Linked DNA regions of Homo sapiens: region 2 is linked to region 1. The links are contacts of gene promoters, found by promoter capture Hi-C in blood cells and fetal thymus (Javierre and others, 2016). All regions are on one chromosome and are shown on one strand. The core of a region is centred on a gene start or on the middle of the fragment in contact, and the rest is flanking DNA. Distances in the headings are between cores, read along the strand shown. Region 1 holds the start of AXDND1 (axonemal dynein light chain domain containing 1). Region 2 overlaps ABL2 (ABL proto-oncogene 2, non-receptor tyrosine kinase).

What was found. Contacts are between HindIII fragments. The CHiCAGO score rates a contact against its expected background, and 5 or more counts as called.
Region 2: a contact is called between a fragment that was not itself captured here and the fragment with the promoter of AXDND1 in region 1, in 9 of 17 cell types (naive CD4 T cells, activated CD4 T cells, total CD8 T cells and 6 more). The highest score is 11.7, in naive CD4 T cells.

What each region holds. Positions count from the first base shown.
Region 1 is chr1:179,364,377-179,367,262 of GRCh38, reverse strand. AXDND1 (axonemal dynein light chain domain containing 1) reads right to left here and starts at 1,292. Exons shown (of 26, transcript NM_144696.6): 1 at 1,263-1,292; 2 at 657-859. The coding sequence starts at 753. RefSeq lists enhancers at 892-961, 1,342-1,741. The HindIII fragment of the contact is 9,843 bases long and covers 1-2,886 here.
Region 2 is chr1:179,102,785-179,105,645 of GRCh38, reverse strand. ABL2 (ABL proto-oncogene 2, non-receptor tyrosine kinase) reads left to right here. Exons shown (of 12, transcript NM_007314.4): 12 at 1-2,861. Among named protein-coding and RNA genes, the nearest start is that of TOR3A, 22 kb to the right of the region's middle. The HindIII fragment of the contact is 4,193 bases long and covers 1-2,861 here.

The DNA.
Region 1 (2,886 bases), core at 43-2,542:
GGTGTGAGCCACTGTGCCCGGCCTATTTATTTATTTATTTTGAGATGGGGTCTTGCTCTTGTCTCCCAGACTGGAATGCAATGGCTCGATCCTGGCTCACTGCAACCTCACCTCCTGGGTTCAAGCGATTCTCTTGCCTCAGCCTCCAGAGTAAGCTGGGACTACAGGCGCGAGCCACCATGCCCGGCTAATTTTTGTATTTCTAGTAGAGACGGGATTTCATCATATTTGGCCAGGCTGGTCTCGAACTCCTGACCTCAAGTGATCCGCCCACCTCGGCCTCCCAAAGTGCTGGGATTACAGGCGTGAGCCACCGCGCCCTGCCTCACTATTACTTTTTCCAAAGTTCCTTAAAGCCAAAGACCAGGAACCAAAAAATACGTAACTATTGATATTTAAAATAGGTTGAATTTAAAATCATATATAAATCAACATTTGAAAAAAAGTATAAACTGTATTTAGATGGAGTAGTGAAACAGTACTCTGACTCAAAATACTGTAAAAGGAATGACTTCTTGCTTTATTTAAGCAAGTGTGTTAGAAAAATGTAGCCAATCAAGGTATTCTGAATATCAGATTTAAAAAACCGGTGAATGGAAGGTGATTTCTGTCTTACGGCCATGACTGTTTATGACTTCAGAATCAACGAAGTTTACCTCTTGTCCCTTCCTTGGCTACAGACACTTTTAACTTTTTGCTCTCAGATGTTGATGTAGAGTTTAGCGGGGTGGAGGGCGTTTTCGGGAGAGACATAATAAACAATGCCTCCTATCTCTTTAGTAATTTGAAATAGTCCTCCGGAAAGCTAATTTAGACACAAATCAGCGCCGCACTGGGACTTGCAGGCTGCCACATAGTCCTGCAGGCAGAGGAAAAAAGATTTAAAAAAAAAAAAAAAGATGACAACTATTGAGTACTTAGGTTCAGATCGCAGTTTAGAATTCATCTAGCATGGTTCTCCTTCTTCGGGGCGACCTCTATGTTCTGGGGTTATGTGTAGCGACTAAGAAGCCTTAGTGGACCGTCAGGTCGGGGTCAAGGAGCAGGGCAGGAAGGACCCGCTCGGCGGACCCCGCAGACCGCCGGCACCCCTGGTGGGGGACACTCGCTGCAGGCGGCTCGGCTGGGGACCATACCTTCCCCACAGGCAGCGCTCTCGCGCGCCAGTTCCACAAACTCGCGAGTTGGGCAGGCCTCGCACTGCTTCTTGGTTTAAAATGACGGGAAAGGGACACCCGCGATCCTACCCACACATTGCGTACCCGCCCAGCATCCGCTCACTTCCTCCTTTGCTGGAACGCCTGTTTGTCGTCATAGAAACCCAGGGCCCCGAGGTTTAGCGCCCTCCATAGGGGCTGCCTTCAGCGGTGCCGGCGGAGGAGGGAGACAGCTAAGACAATCCCTACACCCTCTTGGAGTTTCTTATGTTCTAAGTCACAGCATAGGTTCAGTAGCAAAGGAGAAGAAAAACGTTTAATCCCGCCGTTGTCACGGAATCCGAAAGTGTCTCACGCCGGGGCTTCCTGCCGCGGGCCAGGCCAGTGCGCAGGCGCCGGTGGGGGTTAGCTCGAGGGGCCGACCCCTGTAGCCCGTGACGCACGCGGGTTAAGCAAGGGTCTTCTGAGTTGTTTCCATCTTTCTAGCTCTCTTTTTTGTTGCTTTGCATATTTTTCTTTCTCTTTCTTCCTCTTTTTCTTTCTTTCTCTTTTTTTCCCCTGAGACGGAATTTCCCTCTTGTCGCCCAGGCTGGAGTTTAATGGTGCGATCTCGGCTCACTGCAACCTCCACCTCCTGGGTTCAAGCAATTCTCCTGCCTCAGCCTCCCAAGCAGCTGGGACTACAGGCAGACGCCACCATGCCCGGCTAATTTTGTAGTTTGTTTTTTGTTTTGTTTTGTTTGAGACGGAGTCTCGTTCTGTCGCGCTGGCTGGAGTGCAATGGTGCGATCTCAGCTCACTGCCACCTCCGCCTCCCAGGTTCAAGCGATTCTCCTGCCTCAGCCTCCCGAGGGACTACAGGCGGGGGCCACCATGCCCGGCTAATTTTTGTATTTTTAGTAGAGACGGGGTTTCACCATATTGGCCAGGCTGGTCTCAAACTCCTGACCGCGCCCGCCTCGGCCTTCCAAAGTGCTGGGATCATAGGCGTGAGCCACTGCGCCCGGACGCTTTGCATATTTTTCTAAAAGCCAGACTCAGGGGGATGTTGGGTAATAAGAAACGCTGGGTCCCTTATTGGGTAAGCCGTCCAGTGCTTTACATTTCGGTCACGTCTTCCTTGGACCCTTAAATGCCTCCCCCCAGAGCACAAGGAAGGCCTCCTGGGCCCAGATTTTTCACCCCCTTGGGGCAGGGAAGGAGGATTGAGCTTAGGTGGAACCAGCTCAGGTATAATTGTCGGGGCTTCTGGCGTGAAAATCTGCCCTCAGGAAAGAATACCATCAGCGGCCGGTGGCTCACGCCTGTAATCCCAGCACTTTCTTAGGCCGAGGCGGGTGGATCACGAGGTCAGGAGTTCGAGACCAGCCTGACCAACATGGTGAAACCCCGTCTCTACTAAAAACACAAAAATTAGCCAAGAGAGGTGGCGCGCGCCTGTAATCCCAGCTACTCAGGAGGTTGAAGCAGGAGATTCGCTTGAACCGGGGAGGAAAGGGTTGCGGTGAGCCGAGATGGCGCCACCGCACTCCAGCCTGGGCAACAGAACGAGACTCCGTCTCAAAAAAAAAAAGAGTATCATCAGAGCCTTCGCACTGAACTGAGGCTCGGTTCGGTGAGGGATCATTTCTTTTCTTTTCTTTTTTGAGACGGAGTTTCACTCTTGTTGCCCAGGCTGGAGTGCAATGGCTCGATCTCGGCTCACCGCAACCTCCGCCTCCCAGGTTCA
Region 2 (2,861 bases), core at 323-2,822, 260 kb after region 1:
CTGGCAGGTGTTGGGTGATCCCCGCAGTATGTCACCTGCAGTTGCAGCACAGGCAGCTAGTGATTGGGTTCATCTCCTCCTAGTGGTTGGAAGAGAACTCAGATGTAAAAACCAGCGGTCCTTCTCCCACCTTCTTTCCTGCCATTCTTGCTCATCATACATGTCCGTAAACTTGAAGAACTCGTTTTAGCAGCTAGCCTTTTAAGGTCGAGGATGGGAAAGCTAAAACTGTAGAATATTATTATGCTGCTTTTTAGGTTTATCCCTGTTGTTGTGGGATGCAAGTTAAGGGATTGTAATTGTTTTTCAGGGTTTTTTTGTTTTTTGTTTTTTAAGCAAGGGCTCTATTTTCCCTTGAGAGTTCTGGAACTAAGCCTTGGAGAAACACTACTGAGTGTATTTAGGCTCCCTGGTTTTCTTGCCCAACAACAATCTGAAGGGTAGGGGGTGGGGGCTGTGTCTTACTCAGGGGCAGCACCTAGCTGTCTTGCCTACAGTGGGTGCACGATATATAAATGGAATTGATTTTTGTCAACACTGTCAAGAGTGGCATTGACTATTGGAGCATACCCCGTCCACATGATGCTTGAACTATGTAACTTCAGGGGTTGAGGGCTCAAGGTTCAGGTTAAAGAGGCACTGTCAACTTACTATACAAGCATAATTTAGGTTTTTCCTTTTTCTACTTGAAAAGGACCAGCTTAAACACAAACCCTTATGTAAATTAAAAGGTTTGAATCCAAAGCAGAGAGAACTGCTTCTGGAAAAGTGTAGTTTAATTTTAACTATTCTAAAAGCAATGAGCAAAGGCCCTTGTCCAAGGCGTTGACAGTTTTCTAAAGTGGTTATGCTGTATATCTGGATGCATGCCTTTGGGCTGCCACTGCTTGATTCCTTTCATGTACAGATAATATTACTTCAGTTTAGATTTCCCACTTTAAAATGCAGTGATTTGTGTTGAATACATCTTGATTGTGCTTTACCTAAAGTATTTTCTTAAAAGGCTTTGTGTAAAATTTAAATGTATATATTTTCCTGTAGACTTCCATCATGATTTTCAGAGATTAGCCTTAAAAAATTTGGCCCTAAGAAATTCATTCAGTGTTTTTCTAGATGACCTCTGTACATAGAGGTCATTATAGTGGAGACCCTTTACCAGCAGCATTTTAAGATTTAAATTAGATAGAAAGTTTCTTAGGATTCAACTGAAAATTGGCTAGTAAAATATGTCCCAGGTAATAAAGCATGCTGACTTTGCTAAGGCACTGCCCATTTTTATTTAACTAAAGTCATGGAGATTTTGAGTTTAAAGGATGCAGTATAGATAGTGGTTTAGTGTTTAGGCTCTAATGCCAGTCTAAAAGGCAAGTCATTTAACCTTGGGAGCCTCAGTTTCCTCACTGTAAAACAGGGATAATAATAGTAACTACCTCAGGGTTGTTGTAAGGATTAAATGAGATGATATTTGTAAGATACTTAGCTCAAGTGCCTGGCACACAATGAGCACACTCTATAAATGTTCTACTACTACTATTATTAACACCTAGTCTAGGGATGCACAGCAGAATCCCCTAGGGTTAAAAAACAAAACAAAACAAACAAAAAAAACTGACGGAATAGCCCCACTCCAGATCAGAATTCCCAGTGGGCTGGGGTCTCGGCCAGTGTATTCTCCAGTAATCTCGCCAGGTGTTTGAAACACCCAGTGCTATCTGAAAACTATCAGTACCCCAACCCTTTGGTTTATAGATTAAGAAACTAGCAGAAGATGGTTAAATTACTTGCCTATTGTCTCAGAACGGTTAATTAGTGGCGGAGCCAAGGCTAGAATTCAAGTCTCTTGACTTTATGGTTGTGGGGTCTTTCCACCATACCTGCTGCCATGTGAGACACTGCAAAAAAGTGGCTCAGACCGACAATCAGCCTGTGTGGTGCTGCACACTTTCTAAAGCACATGCTCCTGACACTTTGACCTTAAGGGGCTTGAATGTGGAGTAATGGGAACACAAGCCAAGCAAGCACTCAGTAGAATTCAGTCATTTAAAAAATTCAATGGGGTCATTCTTTTGGACAGACCTCAGCAACACAGCAATGTGCACTTTGTAGTAAAGAAATACCAACTTGAGTTTTTAAAAAACCTAGTTAGTCCTACATTCCCTTTTCTTTAAAAAAACTTTATTGTTCACATTATTTTAATGACTATGAGATAATGTATATGACAGCACTTTGAGAAAATATCAACTGTAATATAACTATAAGGTTGTAGTATTGTCTGTTTAAAAGATAAGACAGTTGATTCAATGTGGATGGACCCTGTGGGGTACCTGAAAATGTAGATACGTAAGAATCACCTCTGTCATTTATCACATTTAGAAATATGAAACTGCTTAACAGGTATGAGCAGGTATAGCAAGTGTTTGCTAAAGTTGTAGTTCAGAGCTGAATTACTTCAGGAAACTAGGGACCAACTTTTTGGTTTAATTCCGATCTTTAAAAAGTAAGAATGTGTACTCACTCCAGAACACAGAAGCTCTTCCAAGGACCTTGACTCAAGAAGGATGAGGTCCTCTTACTCTTCTCCATTTATCCACTATATGCTTGGCCATTTATCCTAAATGTGGTGGGAACAGACTTGTTATCTGTTGATGTTGACAGTGTCTTTTTTAACCTATGTCCTGCATAGTTTTGTTAGGTTTACAGGGGGAGGTGGATGGCCATAAAACCAGTGCACTTTGGGAATTACTTTTCTAGGATTTCCTACCAGTTATAAATGACATTGACATTTGTCATCTTTTTTTTCTTTTTCTAAAAAGAATAGCTGAATTTAATTCACCTATTATAAAATACTCAAAAGTAAATTG